Regions from separate parts of the Homo sapiens genome. Here region 2 is linked to region 1. The links are contacts of gene promoters, found by promoter capture Hi-C in human tissues and cell types (Jung and others, 2019). All regions are on one chromosome and are shown on one strand. The core of a region is centred on a gene start or on the middle of the fragment in contact, and the rest is flanking DNA. Distances in the headings are between cores, read along the strand shown. Region 1 holds the start of KRT3 (keratin 3). Region 2 overlaps KRT2 (keratin 2).

What was found. Contacts are between HindIII fragments. The study calls those that stand out against the background at their distance.
Region 2: a contact is called between a fragment that was not itself captured here and the fragment with the promoter of KRT3 in region 1, in 5 of the 25 tissues and cell types used here (H1 embryonic stem cells, bladder, small bowel and 2 more).

The regions. Positions count from the first base shown.
Region 1 is chr12:52,793,481-52,800,291 of GRCh38, reverse strand. It overlaps KRT3 (keratin 3), which reads left to right and starts at 4,175. Exons shown (of 9, transcript NM_057088.3): 1 at 4,175-4,894; 2 at 5,961-6,181. The coding sequence starts at 4,250. The HindIII fragment of the contact is 6,438 bases long and covers 665-6,811 here.
Region 2 is chr12:52,644,182-52,650,992 of GRCh38, reverse strand. It overlaps KRT2 (keratin 2), which reads left to right. Exons shown (of 9, transcript NM_000423.3): 2 at 440-654; 3 at 1,019-1,079; 4 at 1,891-1,986; 5 at 2,656-2,820; 6 at 3,138-3,263; 7 at 4,033-4,253; 8 at 5,424-5,458; 9 at 5,559-6,435. The coding sequence ends at 5,974. Among named protein-coding and RNA genes, the nearest start is that of KRT2, 4.6 kb to the left of the region's middle. The HindIII fragment of the contact is 3,386 bases long and covers 1,450-4,835 here.

The sequences.
Region 1 (6,811 bases), core at 2,926-5,425:
TCCATTAACATATTAAAGTGGGTGCAGAGAAGATTCCCGGAAACCATCTGTACTGAGGACTGGGAGAAACAACTGGGTCTATCTAACTGGGAGGTTGGTGTCTGTGAATTCCACAGTATTTTCTAATATTGGAAGGGTTGTGATACAGAAACCAGGGGAGTGTGTGTGTTTTACTATGGAAGGCCAGGCAAGAGCAAATTCATCGCAACTCAGTTCCCATCTGCTGAAGGCCTGCCAGGGCCACAGGCTGATGGACACAAAGGCAGGGAAGACAGGTGGTAACAGTGCTCAGTGGGGAATCTCAGCTGGGGGCAGGTGTCCAGCCGTGGAAGGGGCAGGACCTTGAGACCTGAGGCTGAGAGGCCCCAGTTAGGGTTGCTGTTGTGTCAGGACTGCAAGGATTCTGAGAATGCACATGGATGCAAGTGTCTCTCGACTGAGTGAATAATGTGTCTTTTTATGTATATGTATTACCACTTTCAAATGTATATGACTATGAACTGCACTTTTATTTAAAAGTGTTGCTAAATTCATAGTAAAAAATGTATATTCTCAAAGGATACTGGAAGTATGAGTTCTGACATGTGTGAAGGTCAATGTAATTTTTTGTGTGTTAAAAGGGGCCTTCACAAGCAGAGAGGTATGGGTGCCATGCCATGACGGACAGGTGACTGGGCCTCCTGCTGCTGACCACAACTTCACTGATCCTTTAAGAGGAGTTAGGCTCCCATGAAATGGAGTGGAAGGCACGAAAGCTAGATCCTTGAAGACCTTCCTTGGGTCAGGGTGGGGTCTTGCTGGCCTGGGCAAGTTAGGAGATTTGATGAATCGCCTTCCATGGGGATCCTGAAGAGTAGGAGTGGCCAGGTGAATTCTGCCTCGAGGTAGAGGAGTGGACTGGAGAGCCTCCTGGCCGTAGCACCCTATGAGTCTCGATTTTACACATTGCAATCCAGTGACTCACTCTTTTCTCCAGGGAGTAAACACTTAGGGCGCTTAGTTAATAAACTTCAGATAATTCAAGTGTTGGGGATGACTGTAAACCAACTCTGTTTTCTCAAAGTGTTTATTAGGCCCTACAAGTTTAGAGGGATGGGCCCAACCAATAAGAATTTCAACTCACTGATTATCTCCTCCCCTTCCACCACTTCCTTCACTCACAGCTCTGATCAGAATTGACAATCTAGTCCCACGAATGTATTCCCCAATCTTTGTTTTGCTCCCTGTCCTCTCAAAGGTCAAGCCATGTCTTCTCTGCTATCCCAACCCCAAGAGTAAGTATAGATTATGCCCTTCTTCCTTTTTCTTCCACCATCTGCTGGGGAGGTCCCCGACCCAGGACTAGCTGATGACAGCAGTGGTTGTGATGTTGCTTCTCAAAGATTCTTCTCCAAGATAATTCCCTCTAAAGGAATGACAAGCATGGCTCAGAATCAGTGGGCTCTGGCAATGACTAAGATCTCCCCCCATTGGGGCACTAAGTACCCTGAATCACTATGGGTTTAGGAATTCCTAGAGACTCATTGCCCTGGACTCTAGACCCCACACCAGACCAAGCAGCAGCCTCATTTCTGTCTGGCATAAAGGCAGGTCCTCCATCCTGCTCTCTTAGATATTATAAGGAAAAATATGGTCTAATTTTTGTGATATGTTTCCTTTTTTCTTTTTCTTTTGTTGAGAAGGGTCTTGTTCTGTTGTCCAGGCTGGAGTGCCATGGTGCAATCATAGCTCAGTGCAGCCTTGACCTCCCAGGATCAAGTGATCCTCCGACCTTAGCCTCCCAAGCACCTGGGTCTACAGGCACATGACACCACACCCGGCTAATCTTTGTATTTTTTTCATAGAGATGGTGTTTTGCCATGTTTCCAAGGCTGGTCTGAAACTCCTGGGCTCAAGCAATCTGCCCACCTCAGCCTTGCAAAGTATTGGGGTTACAGGCGTGAGCCACCACATTTGGCCTTGTGATATGTTTCTTAAAACACTGGCAGATATTTCATTCATCTAGCTATGTTCCTGTGAGATCTAGAGGGTCAGAGATGATTGATCATCTTTTATGGTTAATGATGCTGAAATGCAGAGAATTTAAATAGCTTTGGTCATGCTTAGTCATGGGGAGGATCTGGTCTAGCCCTGGGTTTGGTTCATTGCCTTTGAGGGAGCAAAGAGGAGAGGAGCCTGTGTGGCCACACTCTAGGCCTGGGCTAACTTCACAGTCCATGGGCAGAACTTGCAGAAAATTAGGGATATAAGTCAGAGATGCTGGAGAGGGGATCCCAGCAATGAACGGGGCAGATTGTGTGACCTCAAATGTCCAGTCAACTTCAACTTGATTCTGTAATTGATTGATTCTTGATTGATTAGTTCTTGATTCTGTGATTCTACATTTTTTTCCCCTGAGGAGGTGACACTCATTTTGCATGTAAATTTTTCTAAATCTGAACACCAAATTTGAGAAGTCTGGATTCCTCACATTGAAATAATCTCAATTAGCTTGTGCTACCTCATGCAATGGGAGTTGAACTAGCTTTCAACCAGTTTTATCTGGTTGTAATCCAGTATAAGGGCTTAACCATTAGTCATTAATAATTAATTGATGGACTAATTCATTTTTTCAACAAACCAAACTTTATGGCACTTACTATTGGCAAAGCACTGTGCTTTGGTTCAAGGCACCCAGTATATTAACAAGACTGGAAACTCCTGGAGAGCTTATGGTTTTATCCTGGGGAGGAGCTAGGATGTTGCACAGCCTGGCAGGTAACACATGGGAGAGATAAGGATAAAATGGAAGAACCAGGCCACTGAAGAAAATTGTACTTCCTTTGCACTTGGGCCACTCCCAGCCCTACCCAGTGGGTGTTGAAGAAGTCTCTATCCTTTCCCCCAATTCTAAGGAGGCTCCTGCCAGGGCCATACAGACCACACCCTTAGAAGGGCCCAATGTGCAGCAGACAGAACAAAAAAGGCCTGTCCTGGAGAGATAAGCAGCTAACTTGGCCAGCTCCAGAGTGTGCAGGATGGCTTTCTTTTGGACAAACCAAGCCCAGTCATAAGCCTCTGAACAACCCCAGACAGGGAGAGTTTCAGGCTTTCGGAGTCAGACATATTCCATAGTGCTGCCGGCTCTGCCAGATCTGGCTTTCTGGGGTTTGTGAGGGGGCATGGGCGACTCTCAGGAGCACATCTCTCAAACAGAAAATGGTCCCACAGGGGCCCTGTGTGTCTTGTCCATGACTGGGTCTCCAGAGTTTTGCAAAGGGCCTGGCACACATTTGGCAGTCTGTAAATATTTGCTGAATTTGTTGTTGACTTGACATTTGAATTTCTTGTTCCCTAGGCCTTAAGCTAAAACCAGAGAAAGGCCAAAATGTGGGGAGCAAGAAAGGAAGCCATAGATAAACCCCAAGATGTGTAATAGTGTATAATTTCTCTGGGAAGTTTTAAAGAGAAACAAACATTAGGCATGTTGGATTTTGCCAGTGTCTGCTCAACATACATAGGTGTTAACTTGACTTTTTCTCCAAAGATAGTCATAAACCAAAAGGTCACTACCTCCTGAACTAAAGCTTGGGGTACAGGGAGAACCCAGGAGGCAGATTTGTGATAGTTCTGGGCTTTTTTCCAAGAAGGGAGAAGGAGAGGTCAGCGCTTCATCCCAAAGGCCAGCGTAGAGCTGGGCACATACTGTGCACTCAGTCATTGTGGAGAGACCTGCATCACTCCTTCCATTAAGATACTTTCCCAGAGCTGTGAGTGGGCTCCACTGTCTCCACTACTCAGAGAAGCAGAACCTCCCCACACCTCCTCCACTCTATCCTCTCCAGAGCTGGGCACCGCTCTGCAGGGCCCAGGTGCAGCTAATAGGCAGAGGGATGGCTGCTGAGCACCTGATGCAGGTGAGCGTGCCTCCTGGGTCCTGTCAGACAGAGCTAGGAGGAGGCCATGCCCAAACATGGGGCAACACCAGGCACCACCCCCTCACCAGGTAAGCCTGCCACCTTAGCACTTTTACCATTTCAGCTTATTTTCAAGGTGTGTTTGGTAGCCTGGAACAAACTTATTGCCTTGGAGGCAAACCCAGCCCATGAATATTTGGGATTAATTATCTCTCCTTCGTTTGAGCCCAACAACCTCCTCAAATGTATATAAAGGGATTTATTTTGCACAGGTCTTCATTTCCCATCCCTCTTCCTCTGACTCTCAGTGTCCCTGCTTAACTTACACTCTTCTCTTCGCCAAGCTCCTTACCATGAGCAGACAAGCCAGCAAGACATCTGGTGGCGGGAGCCAGGGTTTCTCCGGCCGCTCTGCTGTGGTCTCCGGCAGCAGCAGGATGAGCTGTGTGGCCCACTCTGGGGGAGCTGGCGGAGGGGCCTATGGCTTCCGGAGCGGAGCAGGTGGCTTTGGCAGTCGCAGCCTCTACAACCTGGGCGGCAACAAGAGCATCTCCATCAGCGTGGCAGCTGGCGGCTCCCGGGCTGGAGGCTTTGGGGGAGGGCGGAGCAGCTGTGCCTTTGCAGGTGGCTATGGAGGTGGCTTTGGGAGCGGCTATGGAGGTGGCTTTGGTGGTGGCTTTGGTGGTGGCAGAGGAATGGGAGGTGGCTTTGGTGGAGCTGGTGGCTTTGGAGGGGCTGGTGGCTTTGGAGGGGCTGGTGGCTTTGGTGGTCCTGGTGGCTTTGGTGGGTCTGGTGGCTTTGGTGGGCCTGGCAGCTTGGGCAGTCCTGGTGGCTTTGGCCCTGGGGGCTTTCCTGGGGGAATTCAGGAAGTGACTATCAACCAGAGTCTCCTGCAGCCCCTCAATGTGGAGATCGACCCCCAGATTGGGCAAGTAAAGGCCCAGGAGCGGGAACAGATCAAGACCCTCAACAACAAGTTTGCCTCCTTCATTGACAAGGTAATGAAGCTTTGACTGGTCATCCCTTCCTGGGCTGGGGACTTTGAATTTGACCTTTGGGACACAGTGTTTAAATGTTTCTTGGATAGGCCAGACTGGAGGGTGAGGAGTTAGGTGGAACTCTAGGGTCTGGGAAGATATCCAGGGTTGAGGAGTTTGTCTACATGGTCAAGTGAGGGGAGGTGTAGAAAGAAAACAGTCCCCTATTTGGACCTGAGCACCACACATCCTGTTTGTGGGAACCCCTGCTGAAGTTTCCAGTCATTGCCTCATTGAGGCCCAGGCTGGCAGGGCAGGCAGCCCAAGGCAAGGGCCACAGCCACCATCAGCGAAGGGTCCACCAAGAATGGGAGGCTTTTCAAATACAAGCTGCCCTCTGAGGCTTTCCAGGAAGCCCTTTCCCCCTCATATTGCTGTGCCAGGCAGAGGAGGCTGATTACCTGGAGCAGGGATTAAGAGCATAAGAACCTTAGTTAGTCCCAAGGGAGCGCAGAGAAATGAGTGACTTTGCACTCCTACTCAGCCTAGTCAGGAAGACAAGAGTGCTCGGTGAGCTTCTCCAGACCAGGACAGTTCTCATGGGGCTGCCTCCCCTCCAGGCCCAAGAGAGGTGTTGTCATGCTAACTGTGGCATGCCAGCCAGTGTTGCTTCCCAGCTTCCCAGCATCACTTCACTGTTTTTGAAGAGCTAGCATGTCAGTAGAGTCGTGGGTGGAAATGGTGCTGCTGAGGTTTATGTGCATTTTTGTAGAGTGTACTGTGGTTTTGGAAGTTAAGATAGGGTCATGAAGTTCCCAGGAACAACAAGCAATAATTCTATTGCTTTCAGGTAGGAGCTACTTCCCCTTCCTTTGTAACTTTCCAAACCACGCTGCAAGTGTAGTGTCCTGACTCATCACCCATCTGATCATAATCTCTCTGACTACAGTAGGAGCCTATCTTTGCATCTTTTCTAGGCCTTTGTGCTGGGGGCCCAGGAGATAGACACCTAGTCCTACCTGAGTGAAGGCCCCTCTGCTCCTCTGCTACAAGTGTTGCCTGATGTTGCTTCCTGCAACCATTGCAGGTGCGGTTCCTGGAGCAACAGAACAAAGTCCTGGAGACCAAGTGGAACCTGCTCCAGCAGCAGGGCACAAGTTCCATCTCAGGCACAAACAACCTTGAGCCTCTTTTTGAGAATCACATCAACTACCTGCGGAGCTACCTGGACAACATCCTCGGGGAGAGAGGGCGCCTGGACTCTGAGCTGAAGAACATGGAGGACCTGGTGGAAGACTTCAAGAAGAAGTGAGTGACAGGGCAGGAGTGGGAAGATGCCATGGCCCACCCTGTCTCAGAGTCTTGGCCCCTTCTACATGCCCCCTGACTGCTGGGCAGTGGCGTCTCCTGGCCCATTTCCCTCTCCTTACCTTCATGAAGGACAGCTTGGTTCATTCAGTTCCCCCTCACCTTCCTTCTCCAAGCATGGTGCTTTGCAAATAAAATTGTGGCAAGAGGATGAGTTTAGGCTGGGCTTGGTGGCTCATGCCTGTAATCCCAGCACTTTGGGAGGCCGAGGTGGACAGATCATTTGAGGTCAGGAGTTCAAGACCAGCCTGGCCAACATGGCGAAATATCATCTCTACTAAAAATACAAAAATTAGCTGGGTGTGGTGGCACACACCTGTAATCCAAGATAGTCGGGTGGCTGAGGAAACAGAATTTCTTGAACCCTGGAAATGGAGGTTGCAGTGAGTCAAGATTGTACCACTGCACTCCAGCCTCGGTGACAGAGCGAGACTATGTCTAAAAAAAAAACAAAAACAAAAAACGGATGAGTTTAGAGTTGGGGAAGCATTTCCTCATGAGCCAGGTTGGGGAAGATCCTGGTTCTGGCATGTGAAAGATTCTGGGACAACTCATGGTATGGTGATCAAC
Region 2 (6,811 bases), core at 1,893-4,392, 150 kb after region 1:
GATTTACAAGGCTCTTAAAAATCAGGCTGAGGAGCCCTGCCCTCTGGGACTCTCATACTCAGCACCCTTGCGAGCAGTGCCAGCAGATGGCTGCTTTCGGTTTTCCCCAGAATTTATGGGATCTTGGCTGGAAATTCAACCAGGATGCGGGGAGGGAAATGGTCTAGAGTATTGGGAGCAGCTGCAAACAAACCAGTGAGCAGTGAAGCAGCAAAGAGTCTCCTCTGCGTGGAGAGAGCCGGATGTAGCATTAGGAGTCTGTGGGACTTTCCAGGGGCGAAAGCAGGGAGCTCAGAAGCTCTGCCAGTCATGACTCGGCATCCAGCCTCAGACACTTCTCGAGGTCCTGAAGCAGCACCTGAGCTGCCCCTGGCCAGCGTGGCTTGCTTGGTGTGAAGGATGATCTAGAACTCATGTGCTCTCCTTCTGGTCATGGCAGGTGCGGTTCTTGGAGCAGCAGAACCAGGTGTTACAGACCAAATGGGAGCTGCTACAACAAATGAATGTTGGCACCCGCCCCATCAACCTGGAGCCCATCTTCCAGGGGTATATCGACAGCCTCAAGAGATATCTGGATGGGCTCACTGCAGAAAGAACATCACAGAATTCAGAGCTGAATAACATGCAGGATCTTGTGGAGGATTATAAGAAGAAGTAGGTGGCAGAGTGAAACGCTGAGTGGAGATAAACATTGCACTGAGCCATTTGATCACTCCCTGGAAAGCCATTCATCTCCCAGTTGCATTTGTGGTGGTAATGGGGAGAGGCATATGTATCTTTGTTGATTATTTGTGAGGAAGACAGTGAGACTTTAGAGATCATTTTTGTCTTTTGTATGTTTGAGAGTTAGTTTATAAAAATATATCTTTAGTTTGGAAATCTTAGTTTCAATTTAGATATTTAAAAAGTGTGTAATATTCCCAGAGAATGGGGCATTTGGGGTGAATCCAGTATAAAAGGAAAAGAAAAAAAATGAAGGGGAACTAATCTAACTGCTGTAACATCTGTGTCCCAATAGGTATGAGGATGAAATCAATAAGCGCACAGCTGCTGAGAATGATTTTGTGACGCTTAAAAAGGTGAGCGAGAGAATGTCTTGGCTGGGGGTGGGGATAGGAGTGCTTCACAGCCCCATTGTGTCTAAGCAGCCAGTTTGGAAATCAACTGTGAGTGCAAAAGCAGCAGCCAGAGAAAGGAGTGAGACCCATGGCACATTCTCTTGCAAACAAAATTGTCTCTGTAGGTCAAGCTTCTGGATACAGTTTTCAAAGCTGTTCTGCATTTTTGGTAGAGTGCTTCCCAGTAGTAACCCACTTAAAGCCTCTACTGAATCATGATAAATGCAAACACAAAAATCTCTTTGTATTCTCCTTCTAAAGAGCTGAGGAAGGAATGGGACTTCCCTTAGAATGCCTGCTTAAAGTTGCTGTTGGTTGTGCTGACAAAGGTTTGAGGTTGTAGGCCAAAAGCAAGGGTTCTCCTGCTGGGTCCTGCAGGGCCTTTGGTGTATATTCTGGGGAAATTTCGGAGAGGTGAGATGGACAGACGGGATGAGAGAGCTGAGGACTGTGGAAACCCACAAAGAACATCGTATCCTGTTGTAGAAACACACAGTGTCTCAAGCAGGAGAGAGGGGCTGGTTGGCAAAGCTTGGTCATCTCGAGGCTCTGATGGTCCTGAGGGCTGTGAGCCATGGACGTAGGCATGAAGTCCCTGGCAGAGGTGTATGGTAAACTGCACGACAAAAGAAGTCCCATGGGGACAGGGATCAGGTTGGGGAGCCTGGGATTTTAGAGAGGAGCCAGCAGGGACTGAGTAGAGGGGAGTGGCAGAGAGAGGAAGAGGCCTGTACAGGGAACCATACACCAGAGGCCTCAACCTTTCTTGCAGGACGTGGACAATGCCTACATGATAAAGGTGGAGTTGCAGTCCAAGGTGGACCTGCTGAACCAGGAAATTGAGTTTCTGAAAGTTCTCTATGATGCGGTAAGGAGGCTGCTCCGGGACAGTCCCTTACTTCCCACCCTTCTCACCAAATGAAAGTCCTTTCTGCTTGGTGAAAAAGTGGCAGAAGTGGGGTTTATGGACCAGCTGACTTCAATCTGCCATCATTCCAGGCCACTGGGGGGGCTTTCATAGCATAGGTCTTGTGGGTGAGGAATTTTCTCCTCCGATGTTATGGGAATAAGGTTCAGGAAACACCAGGACAGCTTCCCCTCCCTCCATTCCCCAGATGTCCATTTCCCCTGGGGAAGAGACAAGCCCTGTGCCCATTCCTGTGCCTACTGTACTTCAGAGGTCAAAATGCATTTGTCTCCTATCCCCCTCCCCAACCCAAGGGTGCACAGATGATTTCTGAAACAGGAAGTCCATTTAAGGTATTTGCCATGGACAAGCTTCTGTCTGGGGGCACTTACCATAACTGGCTTAAGTGCTGAATGTTAACTAGGAGGCTCAGAAATACAGGTGCCTCTCACTACAATTCTCAGGACAACCTTGGGAGAGGCCCAGGAGTAGACGGTTACATGATTTTCATCCCACCTAGTGTATGCTTAGTCTGAGGGTCTGCGTTTCCCTTATGCTGGGAGACAGAGGCCTCCTGTCTGCCTGTAGCTATGGCAGGATGTCATGACCAGACCTTCCTGTGTGTTGTAGGAGATATCCCAGATACATCAGAGTGTCACTGACACCAACGTCATCCTCTCCATGGACAACAGCCGCAACCTGGACTTGGATAGCATCATCGCCGAGGTCAAGGCCCAGTATGAGGAGATCGCCCAGAGGAGCAAGGAAGAAGCGGAGGCCCTGTACCACAGCAAGGCAAGTAGAGGGAATGTAGGAAGAGCCACAGCTCCCTGCCATGAGCTGGGTTGCACCCCCAGCTGGAAAGTGTACAGTAAGGTTATTGGTTTTTTGTTTAATGGTAGTTGGGCACCATTCCCAAGAAAGGATGTTGAGAATGGCACCAAGTCCTTTTGGGCATGTGAGACAGTCCCTACCTCTCATGAATGCAGCCATGACATTTAGCTGGGTTGACCCTCCCTGGACCAGTAACCAGCTCTCCTTCACTCCAGTCAGTCTGGAATGTGAGCCAGGCTGGAACTTCCTTGCAAACTGTCCTCTTCTCCCCATATCAGTATGAGGAGCTCCAGGTGACTGTCGGGAGACATGGAGACAGCCTGAAAGAGATCAAGATAGAGATCAGCGAGCTGAACCGCGTGATCCAGAGGCTGCAGGGGGAGATCGCACATGTGAAGAAGCAGGTGAGGCCCAGCCCTGTCCAGCGAGGGGCGGGAGGTTGTCTCTGGGTGTGCGTGAGAGTGTGGTTGTGTGTGAGTGTGCATGTGAGAGATGAGAGACACTGAGATATTGCACTCTAGCATGTATCGATCCCAAATTCCCCAGCTTAACATAATTTATGGCTTATTATAACAATTCTTAGAGTGCTCTAATAGACATTCCAAAGTAAGGATTATCGAAGGGAAAGAATTGTGCTCACTTGTTTATATGAGGAAAAGGGAGTCATAACAAATAGAGCAAACGTTAGTTTGATTGATTTGCTGCAGATTGCCGATGGAGCTTCCCGTTTGTGCTCAGCACAGGCCCTGAGCACCAGCCGACTGGTTTCATAGAGGGGCAGTGAGTATTGAGGGCAGCTGGCCTGGGGCTGGACGTTAGCTTTGGAATAGAAAAGGTAGAGGCAGAGAGTGGATTCCATCAGCAGCAGAAGCTTTGCCAAGCAGACCATTTCAAATGTTTTCATTTCCATCTGTAAAATGGGATCATGATTCAGGCCCTGTGATGTGAGGATCAAAGGGCACTATGGGGAAAGCCAAAGGGTGTCATCAACGGTGACATGGGAAGAAGATGTGCCAGAGACAGCGGCAAGTCTTAGCACAGTTGTTTGCGACTAAACTCCAGAGGGGACCTAACACTCCCAGGGCCAGTGGTTCTGGCTTCCTGCACTTCGAACACCTCTGCTCTCTGTCCGCCTCCGTCAGGCAGAATCCATTCTCTGTCCTTCTGTCATAGTGTAAGAATGTGCAAGATGCCATCGCAGATGCCGAGCAGCGTGGGGAGCATGCCCTCAAGGATGCCAGGAACAAGTTGAATGACCTGGAGGAGGCCCTGCAGCAGGCCAAGGAGGACTTGGCGCGGCTGCTGCGTGACTACCAGGAGCTGATGAACGTGAAGCTGGCCCTAGATGTGGAGATCGCCACCTACCGCAAACTGCTGGAGGGCGAGGAGTGCAGGTGAGGGCACTGGGAAGGGAGAAGGGGACCCTGGCCCTTCCTCTCATCTCTCCCAGAGCCAGGGCTGGAGGCAAAGACAGGGAAAGCAGAGAATGGGGCAGGCCCTCCTGACAACTGAGAACTGACATTCTCTGTGTTCCCCAAGCAGAAACTCAGGACATAAAGCATGATTGGAGAGTTACACATTTATCAACATGAAATGATGCATAAGGCACATTAAATTAAACTAAGCAGTAAGTTAAACATCCTGGTCTTTTCTGAAAGAGAAAACAAAATCATGGGAAAACAGGTTAGTCCTAGACAGTCTGAAACTTTGGTCTCTAGGTCCATAGGGTGAGTGGCTTCTGTGCCCTCCACCGGGTGACCCAGAATGGGGGAGATGATGTCTCGGAATGTGCTGACTGGTGGGGACGTGCTGACCGGAGCAGGTGCCAGCCCCAGTTCTTTGCAGGTTTCTGGAGTGACAAATGGAACCATTTGCTAACTTTCAAAGAGGCACCCTTTGCTTCCTCTGTAGTCTGAGACCTTTGTCCGTATTATCAGCATCTTGGGTGACTTAATCTGGCTGAAGCAATTGGAAGGGGAAAAGCTACCCCAGGCCATCAGCAAGCCAGCATGACAAACAGGGAGTGGCTTTCTTCAGGAGGTTGCTCTGTCCCTGTCTAGAGGCAATGCCTCCTATGCCCAGCTTGTAAGAGGAAGTGGGAAAGTTTTCAGTTGAAGCTGAAGAGGGTGGGAAGAAGAGAGGAATGGGGAGGCTCTACAGAGTCACAGTTCTTTCTGAACTGAATGTTCACAGGCAGCCTCATTGTATAATTTCTGATGTGGCATGGATTCTGAATAACAGACTCTCCAAGATGGATTTAAATACACAAATGGGTTGCAAAGTAGGAAGTGAATTTGCTTTTCAGTGACCTTGGATCAACCACGCAACTGTTCATTTTTTATCAGAGCAAAAATTGAGAGGGATTGACATGCAAGGTTGTGCATAAATGGAAGGGGGTCTGTCGTCATTGTGTGACCTGGCAGCATAGAAGAAAGTGGGGTGTGTAAGCCCTGGTGGCTGCTTAGAGAGGCTAAACTGCACATTTGCGGGTGGAAGTGGTAAAACAACATGCATACAGAACCTAAGTGTTCCACCACAACTTGTTTTTTCTCTCTCCCTTACAGGATGTCTGGAGACCTCAGCAGCAATGTGACTGTGTGTAAGTAATGGGGTGTGGTCCTGTTCCATGGGGTGTTGTGTCAGGTGGAGGCAGGGAGAGGCAGTCATAATCTCTGTGGTAACACCACCTCTCTCTGCAGCTGTGACAAGCAGCACCATTTCATCAAATGTGGCATCCAAGGCTGCCTTTGGAGGTTCTGGAGGTAGAGGGTCCAGTTCCGGAGGAGGATACAGCTCTGGAAGCAGCAGTTATGGCTCTGGAGGCCGACAGTCTGGCTCCAGAGGCGGTAGTGGAGGAGGAGGTTCTATCTCTGGAGGAGGATATGGCTCTGGCGGTGGTTCTGGAGGAAGATACGGATCTGGTGGTGGCTCTAAGGGAGGGTCCATCTCTGGAGGAGGATATGGCTCTGGAGGTGGAAAACACAGCTCTGGAGGTGGCTCTAGAGGAGGCTCCAGCTCTGGAGGAGGATATGGCTCTGGAGGTGGGGGTTCTAGCTCTGTAAAGGGTAGCTCAGGTGAAGCTTTTGGTTCCAGCGTGACCTTCTCTTTTAGATAAAGATGAGCCCCCACCACCACCGACTCTCCCAACCCAGACTCTCCCACTCCAGAATGTAGAAGCCTGTCTCTGTACCTCTAACTGGCAGCAAGTTAAATTTTTGTCATTTATCTCTGATGGCACTTTGAGGGAAAAGAATGTCCACATACAGTTTTTGAAAGATCTTCTCTCCAAACCAGTTAGTTAGAGCCAGTGACGCCTCTGTGTTCTGGGGCGGAATCTGTGCTGTCTAGGTTTGTGCTTCTAGCCATGCCCATTCCCGCCCCCACCATGCCTCTTTGCATTGCCCATTTTCCAGATGTGTATTCTGTTGAGGACCCAGGCCCATCCAGGGATTTCATCTCTAAGCCTGGCAGTGCTGGGGGGAAATGTGTTTCTGTGTATATAGCTCCTCTTGTCCACTCTGCTTTCGGAAGTGCTGTGGTCTGGGGGTCTTCATAATAAACCTCATTTGCAATTCATATCATGTGCTGTCTGCGTGATGTCAAACCTTGGTGGAAGTGGGCAGCCATGGACAAGGGAGGTTTGGGCATTAAGGAGGGGCTCCTGGGTGAGGAGCGTGCCTCCCTGAGGGAAGCCCAGGCGCCAGCCTCTGGATGAATGGGAGCCTGGGGATGGGTGTGTGGTTCTCAGAAAGTATTTACCAGACTTGAGGGCCATGGCATTGCCGGGAGGTGGACAGGTAGATTTGTGGAAGAGTCTCTTTTCTAGAAAAACCCATTCTTCCTGAGCATTTCCCACAGACTGCCCTCTCCCTTTTCCACAAAGGCTTTGGCCCGGGATCACTTCTCCTCAGGGCAAAACCGCTGAGCCCCTGGCACCATCGTGGTGAGTTTC